Linked DNA regions of Homo sapiens: all the other regions are linked to region 1. The links are contacts of gene promoters, found by promoter capture Hi-C in blood cells and fetal thymus (Javierre and others, 2016). All regions are on one chromosome and are shown on one strand. The core of a region is centred on a gene start or on the middle of the fragment in contact, and the rest is flanking DNA. Distances in the headings are between cores, read along the strand shown.

Region 1 (4,035 bases), core at 15-2,514:
CATTTAACCTACCCTACCCACCAGCGCCAGAAACACATTCCCACCTGCACTTTTGGGCTGTTTGCTATTTGTGTTGGCAGCTGCATCAGCAAAAAGTCTTATCCTGTGAAAGCCCCTTGTTTGAAGCAAGAATTTCTTCAGATTTAGTTTTACTGTACTCTAATTGGGATCCAAACCTCTCCCTAGTCCCCTAGCGTCATAAACTGAGTAAACCAGCCTCTTCTTTCTTCACTTCAGATTCCAGTACTAACATACTTTTGGGGCGGCGTCATACCAAAAGGGATTTTTTGTTATTGTTCTTTATTAATTAGCAAGTGCTTTTCAAGCATCTCCGTCCTCTCCCTAATTCCTCAGTTACGAGTACAAGTACATTTTCCAGGAGTCCCTAGGGAAAGGGGCTAGAGAAGGAAGTCACGAGGTGGGGCTGTGGTGCATTTAGGCTTAAATTTATTTATTTATTTATTTTTTGAGACGCTCTCACTTTGCAGCCCAGGCTGGAGGGCAGTGGCGCAATCATGGCTAACTGCAGTCTCCACCTCCCCAGATTGAGGTGATCCTCACCCCTCAGCCTCCCAAGAAGCGGGGACTACAGGCATGCGTCTCTACACTCGGCTAATTTCTGTATGTTTTGTAGAGATGCGGTTTAGCCATGTTGGCCAGGCTGGTCTCGAACTCCTTGGCTCATGTGATCTGCCCATCTCGACCTCCCAAAGTGCTGGGATTACAGGCATGAGCCACCGCGCCCGGCCTCAAACTTATTTTTCAATTGAGATTAAGATTATCTGAGGAGAGATATGTGTATGTATTGTAACAAATTTTATGTGGGTCAGTTCTCACTTTTTCAAGGGCCATTGTGTTCTCCTGTGAAAGCATGGGGTTGCGGATGTCAAACTTGTCCCTTAAAACGTCAGTACTTGGGGTGTAACCACTTCGGGAGTGGGAATGGTATTAGGGATTGTACTCAGCGGTAGACAGCACAGCATTCGCCCCTCTCTGTAATCCTTGGCAAGTCACAGGACATTTGAGTTTATTTTCTGTAAAATGGGAATAACCTTACTGAGTTACCGGAGTAAATGAATAATGTAAGCAAAAGCACTTTGCGAAGCAACAATGCTAGTTTATTGAACGGAACACTGAGCAGAGCAGCTGGATTCCCACCGGTCGAGCCTCCCGGTTCTCTTTCCCTGTCCCAAGTGCGCGGCCACAGCGGCTCTTCTCCATGGCAACGTCCCCGCGTTCCGGGCCCCGCCCCGACCCGCCACCAGAACCGGAAGTTGTTGCGCAGCTGGCAGTTCCCCGGTTTCTCCCCGACGGCGTCGGGAGGTGAGACCCGAGGCCTCTTTAGGGCCCCCAGGCTGCGGTCAGAGGCGGTGGTCCCCGGGTGGTGGAAGGGGGACGCGGAGAGGCGGCCGCGGACTCGTCGCCACCCCTCCCTTCGCGCGCAAGTGCAGCACCCTTACACCGTCCCAGATCCCCAGGCCCCTCCCCTCCGCTGCCTGCCCCTGAGTCCGCGCACCCCTTCCCCTCGTCCTTCCCCGGCGGACCCCGGGCGCCTGCCCTGCCAGGTGAACCCGCGCCACCTGCCGCTTCGCCCCGGCGGTTCCCAGCCTGGGAGGCGCGCGGCGCGGCGCGGTGGGCGCGGGAGGTCGGGAGATGGTCGGAAGCCAGCCCTCCCAGAGCCGGCCCACCACAGCAGGGTAGAGCCGAGAGCGGCGTCCCCTGCAGAAAGACCCCTGCGTCCCAGGCTTTGATCGAAGCCTCCCCTCCAGGGACGTTCTTTCTGGTTGTCGTGCGGTGTCGGGGGTTCCTTACCCTCACCTCAGGTTTAGCACAGATTCTGCGCCTGGTGCTGAAGTGACAGGGCGGCCACTCTCTTCCAGAGGCTGCTTTAGCCCCGGGGTCCCTCATATATCCCTTAGGGTACCTGACGGCTCCAAACCGGTGGCCTCAACCCTTCCCACCTCTCAGGTCTTGTTCCCCAGACTCTTCTGGCCCCGCTTCATCTGGGAGCGCGGCTGCCTGCCGCCACTTCCTCCTCTGCGCTGAGACAACGCGCAGGGGTCACCACAAGGGCCCCTGCTGCCTATGGCCTCTAACCACACAGCACCATGGATAAATGTGGACGGCCTGGGTTCAGACCCCAGCTTTGCCCTTGGCCAGAGTACCTGGCTTTGCTGTGACTGCTTCCCCGTCTACAACATGGGGGTAAAAATAATCTAGGGCTTTTATGAGGATTTAACCTTTGTTTATTTTTACTAAGGTGTTCAAAACAGTGCTTGGCACATAGTAAATTCTGTTAATATGTGTGTCTGCTATTGTTTGTTTCATAGCACATCATTGTGTAAAGTTGTATCATTTATTTGGTAACAACTTTATGAACTCACAGGCTTTATACAGGGCCTAGAACAATACTTGGTGAAGTGAGAAAATAAGTCAAATGGCAGGATACATAACGATGGAAGACGGAGGCGCACGTAAGATTTTTAAAGTAGTCATCATTTGCTGAAGTTGTACAAACACTATCATATACCTCCTGCCCAATTTAAAAAATATGATTAGACCGGGTGCAGAGCCTCACGCCTGTACTCCCAGCATTTTGGGAGGCCGAGGCAGAGGGATCACCTGAGGTCAGGAGTTCGAGACCAGCCTGGCCAACATGGTGAAACCCCGTCTCTACTAAAATTATAAAAATTAGCCGGGCGTGGTGGTACACGTCTGCAATCCCAGCTACTTGGGAGGCTGAGGCAGGAGAATCGCTTGAACCCAGAAGGCAGAGGTTGCAGTGAGCCAAGATCCCGCCATTGTACTCCAGCCTGGGCAACAGGGCCAGACTCTGTCTCAAACAAAACAAAACAACAACAACAACAAAATGAGATTAGTTACTGGTGATACTTAACAGTAAAATGATACAAAGGAAAGTGCCGTCCCCCCCCAACTTTGTTGCTAACGAGCTAATAATACTTGAAGAAATCGTTGCCCTCACAAGTCACTATGATTGTGATGGTATTGTGAATTGATACAGTCTTTGTGCAATATTTTGATAATACATAGCAAGACAGAATTTGCTCTTCTCCTTTGATCCTCAACAAGCAGAGGCCTTGGGACATGCTTGAAAGAAATACTTTGAAAGGAGAAAAACAGTATATTCATAAAGATGTGCCTCCCAGCATTAATTATAATAGTGAAATTAGAAACAACCTAAGTATTTTAAAATAGTTAAGTAAGTAATATGGATATGGAAAAAAATAGAAATACATTCAGATGAAGGAACGTGATTGCCTTTTTTGTTGTTTTTTCTTTTTTTTTTTTTTTTGGTGGGGTAGAGATGGGGTCCCATTATGTTGCACAGGCTGGTCCCAAACTCCTGGGCTCAGGTGATCCTCCCATCTCCCACCTCGGCTTCCCAAAGTGCTGGGATTTCAGGCATAAGCACAGTGCCCAGCTGATTGGTTTATTTTTTTTTTAATGGTTCCTTTAATGTCGAAGTAATGTTTTAACAGTAAAAGCTGAAAAAAGTCACACAAAAGTGCTTCCCTCATGAGACTATTTCTTTGAGCTCTTTGCAGCACACTAAATACCGATTGGCTCTTTGAACTGGCTCCAGAGTTAGAGCATTTCTCAGGCTTCCCTTATTTCCATTATCTGGGAGCTTCTATGCAATCCTGGCTGATCTCTTATTGTAATATTCAGTAGCCTTGTGGGCATGGTTTTCAGAATGAATTGTGAATCACTTATGCATATGAATTAATGAGTCTTAGCTGTTTGGTTCTCTTAAAGAAGTATTCTTCAAAAGCATGGTTTCTGGGCCTGGCGTGGTGGCTCAAGCCTGTAATCCCAGCACCTCAGGAGGCCAAGGCGGGTGGATCACCTGAGGTCAGGAGTTCGAGACTAGCCTGGCCAACGTGGTGAAACCCTGTCTCTACTGAAAATACAAAAATTAGCCAGGCGTGGTGGCGGGTACCTGTAGTCCCAGCTACTTAGGACGCTGAAGCATGAGAATCACTTGAACCCAGGAGGCAGAGGTTGCAGTGAGCC
Region 2 (4,368 bases), core at 600-3,099, 150 kb after region 1:
TTGTGCATTTTGTCCAATTCTTTGTTCAAGACGCCAAGAATCTGGACACCCTCCACCAGTAACACTGGGATTACAGGCATGAGCCAGGGCTCCTGGCCTCTAAGTCAATTTTTATTTCTGTAGGTCTATAAGTTTTGGGAATACAGTTCCCTCCTGCTTTTAAATTGTGTATTTAAAATGAAAGGAAAAGTTGCCAGTTTGGAATGAATAAAATAAATAAATAAATAAATAAACAAATAAACAAGCACACACACACAGAGTACACACATATAATGACCTGCTGGAATATTTTTCTCAAACTTTAGTTACTCCTGTAATGAACTGCAGATCTTTGATATTTTTCTACTATTCACCTGTCTACTGCAAAGCCTTTTTCTCCTCTCCTACAATTGCTTACCTTCATTGTTATCTTTTTCTTATGTTTTATGTTCCTTTAATATAGTATGGCATTGCTAGGTCTCAGAATTTTATATGGTTCAATTGTTAATACCTTTAAGATTTGCAAAAAATTATACGATGTTCATGTTTTATTTTATTTTACTTTACCATTATTAGTTTTTTAGACAAGGCCTGGCTCTGTCACCCAGAGTGTAGTGGCACAATCATGGCTCACTGCAGCTTTCGCCTTCTGGGCTCAAGGATTCTCCTGCTTCAGCCTCCCAAGTATCTGGGATTGAAGGTATGTGCCCCCACACCTGGCTAATTTTTGTATTTTTTGTAGAGTCGGAGACTTGACATGTTGCCCAGACTGGTCTTGAACTCCGGAGCTCAAGCAATCTTTCCACCTCAACTTCCCAAAGTGCTGGGATTATGGCATGAGCCACTGCGCCAAGCCCATTGTTCGTATTTTAAAGTAAATTTTAACTAATTTCTTAGACAGCTGAATGGGAAGTCATCTTTCAGCATTTTAATCCAGGGGCTTTTTGTAGTATCTTAAGTCTCCTGGTCTCCGATTAGAAGGTGTTTTCCAGAATATTTTCAGTCTAAAAAAGAATCTCTTGGGATATTTTTTAGTGGAGGTTAAAATGAATAAAATAACATTTTCTCATCTGCTTAAATGTTGTTGTAATCCAATTTTTGAACAGATAAATTTTTTAATGGTTCAAAAAATTGCAAAAGGTATAAGATGAAAAATTGTAATTACCTATTCATTTCCCACTTACCTGCCTACCCTCTGGATAGCCAGCATAATTGGTTTATTATAAGTCATTCCAGAGTTTCTTTATGTCTGCAGAAGCAATGAAAAAATACGTTTCCTTATTCTACCCCTTTTACTCAAAAGGTAGCATACTATACACCCGGTTTTCACTTTGCTTTTTAGAAAGCTAATAATATACCTAAAGATCTTTCCATATTATTTACTTAAAGAGCTTTCTCAGTTTTTTTACAATTGCCTAATATTCTATAACATATAATTTATTAAACCATAATTTATTCAATCAGCCTCCTAGTGATGAAAATTTAGGTTGTTTCCAATGTTTCACTGTTATAAGCAACGTTATAAGAAATAACCATATGCATTTCAAAAGAAGATTATTGACCTGTTATTGTGTTATATGAGTATTTTTTCCTCTTTTTTTTTTTCAGTTTTTGGATTTGTTTTTGTTTTTACCATGCAGAACTTCTTGATTTTCACATAGTGAATTTTATTATTTGTTTCTTCTATGGGTTCTTCATTTTGTGTCATGGTTAGAAAAGTCTTTCTTACTTCAAGATTATAAAAAAAATTATATTTTCTTCTAGAATTTTATTGTTATATTTTCACATCTAAATATTTGATCCATTTAGAATTTGTCCTGATGTAGAATGTGGGTGTAACATATATATTTTTCTAGGTGGCTATCTAATTATTACAATGCCATTTATTAAATAGTTCATCGTTCCCCCCATTAATTTCAGATGACAACCTTTTCATATACTAACTCCCCATATGCGCTTGACTTATTTCTTGGCTTCATGTTTTATTCTTTTCCTCTGGATTTGTCTGGCTATACATGTGCCACTTTTCCTAATTGTCTTTTGAGCTATTAAACATTAATATGGTTTTCATTTATTTTTGTTTGATGAATAACAAGGGGTTGTAAGCATCCTGTGCTTTGGAAGGCATATTTTGATCATTAAGGTAAGGTGTGAATAAAGTCAGATGATAAGCCTGCTTGTGCCTGCACCTTGGCATACTCAGTGTCTAGTCCTTTTGTGTTTATCCTGAAGGACAATGTTTTCTAAGATGTGATGGAGAAATGCTGAAAACATTTTATTAGTCATGTAGGCTCTGGATAATAGTTGTATAATTTGGACATGCACTAGATCATGCAAATAATCAAAGATTGAAAGAAGGATTGATCTTGCCCAGCTCTACAACACAGGAAAAACAGAAATATAAGAGTAATCACTTAGTACTCACAGAACGGTTTTTCTTTTATTTTTTTTTCTTTTTTATTTATTTTATTATTTTGACTTTTAAGTTCAGGGGTACAAGTGATTTGTTACAAAGGTAAACTTGTGTCATGGAGGTTTGTCATACAGATTATCACCCAGATATTAAGCCTAGTACTCATTAGTTATTTTTTAAGATCTTCTCCCTTCTCCTACCCTTCACCCTCCAAAAGGCCCCTGTTTGTGTTGTTCTCCACTATGTGTCCATGTGTTCTCATCATTTAGCTTCCACTTATAACTGAGAACATGTGGTATTTGGTTTTTTTGTTCCTGTGTTAGTTTGCTAAGGATAATGGCCTCCAGCTCCATCCATGTCCCAGCAAAGGACATGATTTTGTTCTCTTTTGTGGATGCATAGTATTCCATGGTATATATGTACCACATTTTCTTTATCCAATCTGTCATTGATGGGCATTTGACTTGGTTTCATGTCTTTGCTATTGTGAATAGTGCTGCAAAAACATACACATGCATGTGTCTTTATGGTAGAATGATTTATATTCCTTTGGGTATAATGGGATCCCAGTAATGGGATTGCTGATTGAATGGTATTTTTGTCTTTATGTCTTTGAGGAATCACCACACTGTCTTCCACAATGGCTGAACTAATTTACACTCCCGCCAACAGTGTATAAGCTATCCCCTTTCTCCACAGCCTCACCAGCATCCGTTATCTTTTGATTTTTTTTAATAATAACAATGTCAGCAAAAAGTCTCAGGATACAAAATTAATGTGCAAAAGTCACTAGCATCCCCATACACCAACAATAGTTAAGCCAAGGACCAAATCAGGAATGAACTCCCATTCACAATTGCCACAAAAGAAATAAAATACATAGTAACACGGCTAACTAGGGAGGTGAAAGATCTCTACAAGGAGAACTACAAAACACTGCTCAAAGAAAACACAGAAGACGCAAACAAATGGAAAATCATCCCATGATCATGGATAGGTAGAATCAATTTTATTAAAACAGTCATATTGCCCAAAGCAATTTATAGATTCAATGCTATTACTATTAAACCACTATTGACATTCTTCCCAGATCTAGAGAAAACTATTTTACAATTCATATGGAACAAAAACAGAGCCTGGATAGCCAAGGCAATCCTAAGCAAAAAGAAAAAACCTGGAGGCATCACACTATTCAACTTGAATCTATATCATAAGGCTATAGTAACCAAAACCAGCATGGTACTGGTACAAAAACAGACACATAGACCAATGGAACAGAATAGAGATCCCAGAAATAAGACCACATACCTGCAACTATCTGATCTCTGACAAATCTGACAAAAGCAAGCAATGGGGAAAGGATTCCTTATTCAATAAGTGATGCAGAAGAATTGGCTAGCCATATGCAGAAGATTGAAACTGGACCACTTCCTTACACCATATACAAAAATTAACTTGAAATACCTTAAATGTAAAACCCAAAACTATAAAAATCCTGGAAGACAACCTAGACGATACCATTCAAGACATAGGCACAGGCAAAGATTTCATGATGAAGACGCCAAAAGCAATTGCAACAAAAGCAAAAAGTGACAACTGGGATCTAAGTAAACAGTTTTTCTTTTGATATGTTATTTCAGTTATTTCTTACCATAACTTGGTAGATACTGTTATTTTATGGATGACGAAGTCACAGATTGGTTAAATGAGCCCAAGTTCACACAGACAGTGTTAGAGCCTAAATTTCAAGTTTGGCATTTTTTTTTCCTATTTGTTTTTTGTTTTGTTTTTGAGATAAATAAATATTCACAGTTAGCTGCAAAAATGGTAGAGAGGTCCTATGTACACTTTACCAAGTTTTCCCCAGTGGTTTTGTCATTGGAGAAGATGCACATAAGATGTAAACATTTATATAATTTATATAACCATCTTATTTAACCGTAAGTTGCAGCAATTGGGGAAACTGGGTAAAGAGT
Region 3 (4,339 bases), core at 671-3,170, 180 kb after region 1:
TCTAGGGAATGAAGATGATTTATTTACCAAAAGAAAAAGACAATAGAATACAAACAAAAATACCAGCTGGGTATGCCTAGTGCTTTTTGGAATGATTACTTTCTGGGAGCTGAATAAGATAGCGCTTTGTGAAAGGAAGGGGCCTTAAAATCATTTAGGACTCCTTTCCAAAATTACACGTGCAGGGTTTTAGAGAGACACACACTCATTAGTGTTGATTGGAGTTATGTAACTCATATTACCCAGGGTATTACAGCTCGCTTTGTTAGTGTCTAATCTAGTGCCAGACTCCCCAAAGGCCCAAATCTGGCAAAGACACAGTAAAATGAAATGCAATGCTGTTTCTTAAAAAAAAAAAAAAAGAAATGCAGTCCAAGCTGTTCTCTGTAAGTTTTAAGCTTAGATTTAATCAAGTGCAGCCAAAATTATTCCACCCAGGAGCTATTATCACATTCCTTTTTTTGAAAGCAGCTAAAACCACGGAATTGTTGGCAGTCATATCCAATCCTTTAGGAAAGAAAAATTCTTATAGCCTCACAATTCCTAACTCTAACTTCCTTTTCCTGTTTAACATGTTTGTGAAGTTATTTGGGAAAAAAATGTTTGAGTGTTAATTTGTAAGTCTTCAACTTAGAACTTGCTGTGAATGAAAAGGATATTGACTCTGGGAGAAATAATTTGGAAAATTTTGGTTTTTAAGGGGAATTAATACAGAGAAATATATATATGTGTATGATTAAATATATATTATGTATGTATTATATTATTTCATATATTTATTTTATATATACAGTTAAATATATATTCCTTTTCTAGCTTTATATATGTTCATATATAAATATGTAACACATGTACATATATAAAGCTAGAAAAAGAATACAATATATATTTTATTATATATTATATTATATATTATAATATGTATTATATTCTTTACATTCCCTAGCTTTGTATATATATAAATCTAGAAAACAAAAACAAAAACAAAACCCAAGAGACTATGGCAGTAACTTCAGACTAACTTTAAAAACCACCAGTTTTTATTTATTTAAATACTTTTTGAGCTGCAACCCCTTGAAAAATTCATAGCTGGACTGAGCCATAATTCCTTTTCTACACATTTGTTTCTTCACCTGGTTTTTATAAATGTTTACATGAAAGAGAATATACTTAAAAAGTATATTAAAAAGTATACTTAAAAAGGTGTATATATTCTGCTTATACCTTGTCAGAAATATCTATGACTTTGTTTGGAATTTCTATTATATATGATAGCCACTTGCAATTTAATAAACAGGCATTTTTTTATTTGTATGGACAGTTCGCTCCAGGGAAGACCTTTTGGAGCTGATCATAAATGGTACAGGATGTGCTCATTTTAAACAAAATTAAGAAATACATGAAGGCATGTTTCTGGCCCCTTCTTAAATCTGTACCTTGTTTCTCTCTCCTGAATTCATCCACTTCTATCCTTGGGCCTTATCCCGTGGCCTGATTCTACCTTCATATGGCTGTCAACAAATTTTTGCTAACACTGACTTAAGGTGGGTCTTGAAATGATTTAAGTAAGATATAGTTTTGTGGAATCTTTTTTTTTTTAAACAAGATCACTGGAAGATGAAAAAGCATTTTTTTTTTCCTTCCACTGGGCTTTTTCCGGAGGCCAGAAGTGAAGAGTAAGTTAGCATGCCATCTAAAGGAGTGTGGAGCCCTGGTCTGTGCTTGTTTGATATAAACAGTAAGCTTTTTATGAATTGTGGAAGCCATTTCTGGGAGGAAAAGGGCTCAAACCTGAACAAATCACTGGAGTCCAGCCATACAGCGCTCTCAAGGGAAAAGCTTAAGCTAAAGGCCTTCCCTAGTTGGGCCATCAAACCAAATCAAAGTGTCTGCTCATTAAATTGCAAGTGGCCATCTGTTTGCTTAATCATGTGCTTCTCTTTCCGTCGGGCTGGTTATCACCGTCTGGTCTGGCCCCTTTTACTAATTAGCCTAAGCTTGATCTTTAGGTGAACCACAGTTTAATTTTATCTGGCATGGAATATGGGTTTATTTATTGTTCCATTTGGTTAAATCATTTGAGGGAAAAGAAAAAAGTTACTATTCTATAGTTTACAAGGACTGGTTATTTAGAATCTGGATTAATATTTGGCTTTTACATTTGAATATTCCCCAGTGAATTGTTTTATGTTATTCTTTTTCTCATTTTGGCGGTGAACATGGTAATGTTTACATTTATAGTTTTTTAGAGCTAGACAGTATTGTTTTTTGGTTTTGTTTTTTCTTTCTTTTCTTCTCATTTCTTTTCTTACTTGCTTTTTTTTTTTTTTGAGACAGGGTCTCTCTTTGTTGCCCAGGCTAGAGTGCAGTGGCACAATCATGGCTCACTGCAATCTCCACCTCTTGAGCTCAAGTGAACCTCCCACCTCAGCCTCCATAGTAGCTGGGACTACAGGTGTACACCACCATGCCCGGCTATTTTTTGTATTTTTTGTAGAGATGAGGTTTCGCCATGTTGTCCAGGCTGGTCTAGAACTCCTGAGCTCAAGCGATCTTCTAGCTTCGGCCTCCCGAATTGCTGGGATTACAGGCGTGAGCCACTGCACCCAGCCTGTTTTCTTTCTTTATTAAGCAATACATATATATATTATAACAGATCCAGTTATACAGTATAAAGGCAAAGTCTAGATAACCAAAGTTAACAGTCTGCTGTGTATCTTTTTGCAATGCTTGTTCAAATACAGACGAGTGGGATGCAATAAAGATATAAATGTAACAAATAAAGCTATATGAGAATGTTTCTATAATGTAGTGGGCGGCAATGTGGGAGTAAGGGAGGGGAGCTTTTTAAGATGGAAAACCCAAAAGCTTAGAGTCAGACTTGAGCCACATCAAAAATTTAAAGTTTCTAAAGATGATTGCCAGTTGGGGAATTGTTTATAGTGTACTTATAAATACTGCCACTGAATCAACCAATCGTTTTAGCACCATGTACTCTTAATTTTGGTTAATAAGTTTAATTCATATTATACTATTTTAATAGGCTGAATTTAAGTATATATGCTGAAAGAACCATAAGACTATTTTGTATTGACTGTAAAAATCCACGAAGTAGAATTCTTTTAAACATTCTCGAGTTCGACTTCTTTTTAAAATTCTTTTTCATTCTAGATTCCATAGATAGAAGCATGTGAGGAGATCTCAGTCTAGTTCTGTGTTGAGAGAACAAATGTCTGTGCATACGATGTTCCCTTCCTGAGCACTGTCTTATTTAACTTCCCACCAGAGAAGGACAACACTGGAGGCTCCTTTTTTCCTTAGGGTTATGATCTATACCAAGCAGCAAGACTCAGGGAAAATCATGTTTCTGCTAACAATTTACAGAAAACATAATTTAAGAATTTCTCATAATTTATAAAGAGTAAAAAGGGATTATGTAACATCATGTTGTTTTTTGGAGGTCACTTAAAATTAGGATGGTAAATATTGATATTGTTTCATTGATTATGTTCCAAATTCTCCAAATTGGCCAATAGTTATACTATGTAGTTACCATCCACTGTTATCCAGGTTTATTCTTCTGTTACTTAGGCTGTCATTGATATTCCAAGTAAAGTAGTATAGTTCACTCTTCTGAATTTGTTTGTGTTTGTTGAAAACCCAGTATTTGGGTATTTAATTTAATTAGCACTAGATGTACATTGCCCCCTGTTTGCCTAGGAGTAGAAAAGCTAAGTGTCAGGTTGTGAGCCTCATTTTTAATGTGAGCCTCATTATAAGTATTTTGAGAGAGAAGCCATTCATTTCGTCTTTGTTCTCTTCACCATAATGTTCTTCACGTAAGAGGAACTCAAGTTCAAATGAACTATGAAAAGCGAAGAACAAACACCCAAACATTTGTATACAAAATAGGGGGATCAGTAAAAGTCTCCAGGAGCTTGAACAAAAAGTAATGCATTTTAAAATTTAAGTTTGAATTGGTTATGTAGAATCATAGAAATTAAAAATAAAAAAGGACACTGGAGTTCATATAATAAAATCTCCAAAAAAAAATAAACAATAAAAAATAAACAAAATGCAGGCATGAAAAGTGATCTCTAATTCATAGAGCAAGGTGGTTTTTTGTTTGTTTGTTTTTGAGACAGGGTCTTGCTCTGTAGCCCAGGCTGGAGTGCAGTGATGTGATCTTGGCTCACTGCAACCTCTGCCTCCCAGATTCAAGCCATTCTTGTGCCTCAGCCTCCCTAGTAGCTGGGACTACAGGTGTGCACCACCACACTCAACGAATTTTTATATTTTTAGTAGAGACAGGGTTTCACCATGTTGTCCAGGCTGGTCT

Evidence for each region. The method cuts DNA at HindIII sites, captures the fragments that hold promoters and counts their contacts. A CHiCAGO score of 5 or more calls a contact.
Region 2: a fragment that was not itself captured here is called in contact with the fragment with the promoter of ZNF396 in region 1 in 2 of 17 cell types (neutrophils and total B cells); the score reaches 6.1 in neutrophils.
Region 3: a contact is called between a fragment that was not itself captured here and the fragment with the promoter of ZNF396 in region 1, in 1 of 17 cell types (total B cells). The highest score is 5.4, in total B cells.

Annotation. Positions count from the first base shown.
Region 1 is chr18:35,374,566-35,378,600 of GRCh38, reverse strand. ZNF396 (zinc finger protein 396) reads left to right here and starts at 1,264. Exons shown (of 4, transcript NM_001322286.2): 1 at 1,264-1,323. RefSeq lists silencers at 1,479-1,548, 1,559-1,748. The HindIII fragment of the contact is 6,702 bases long and covers 1-4,035 here.
Region 2 is chr18:35,222,767-35,227,134 of GRCh38, reverse strand. No RefSeq gene overlaps it. Among named protein-coding and RNA genes, the nearest start is that of ZNF397, 16 kb to the left of the region's middle. The HindIII fragment of the contact is 5,659 bases long and covers 1-4,368 here.
Region 3 is chr18:35,199,286-35,203,624 of GRCh38, reverse strand. No RefSeq gene overlaps it. Among named protein-coding and RNA genes, the nearest start is that of ZNF397, 40 kb to the left of the region's middle. The HindIII fragment of the contact is 158 bases long and covers 1,842-1,999 here.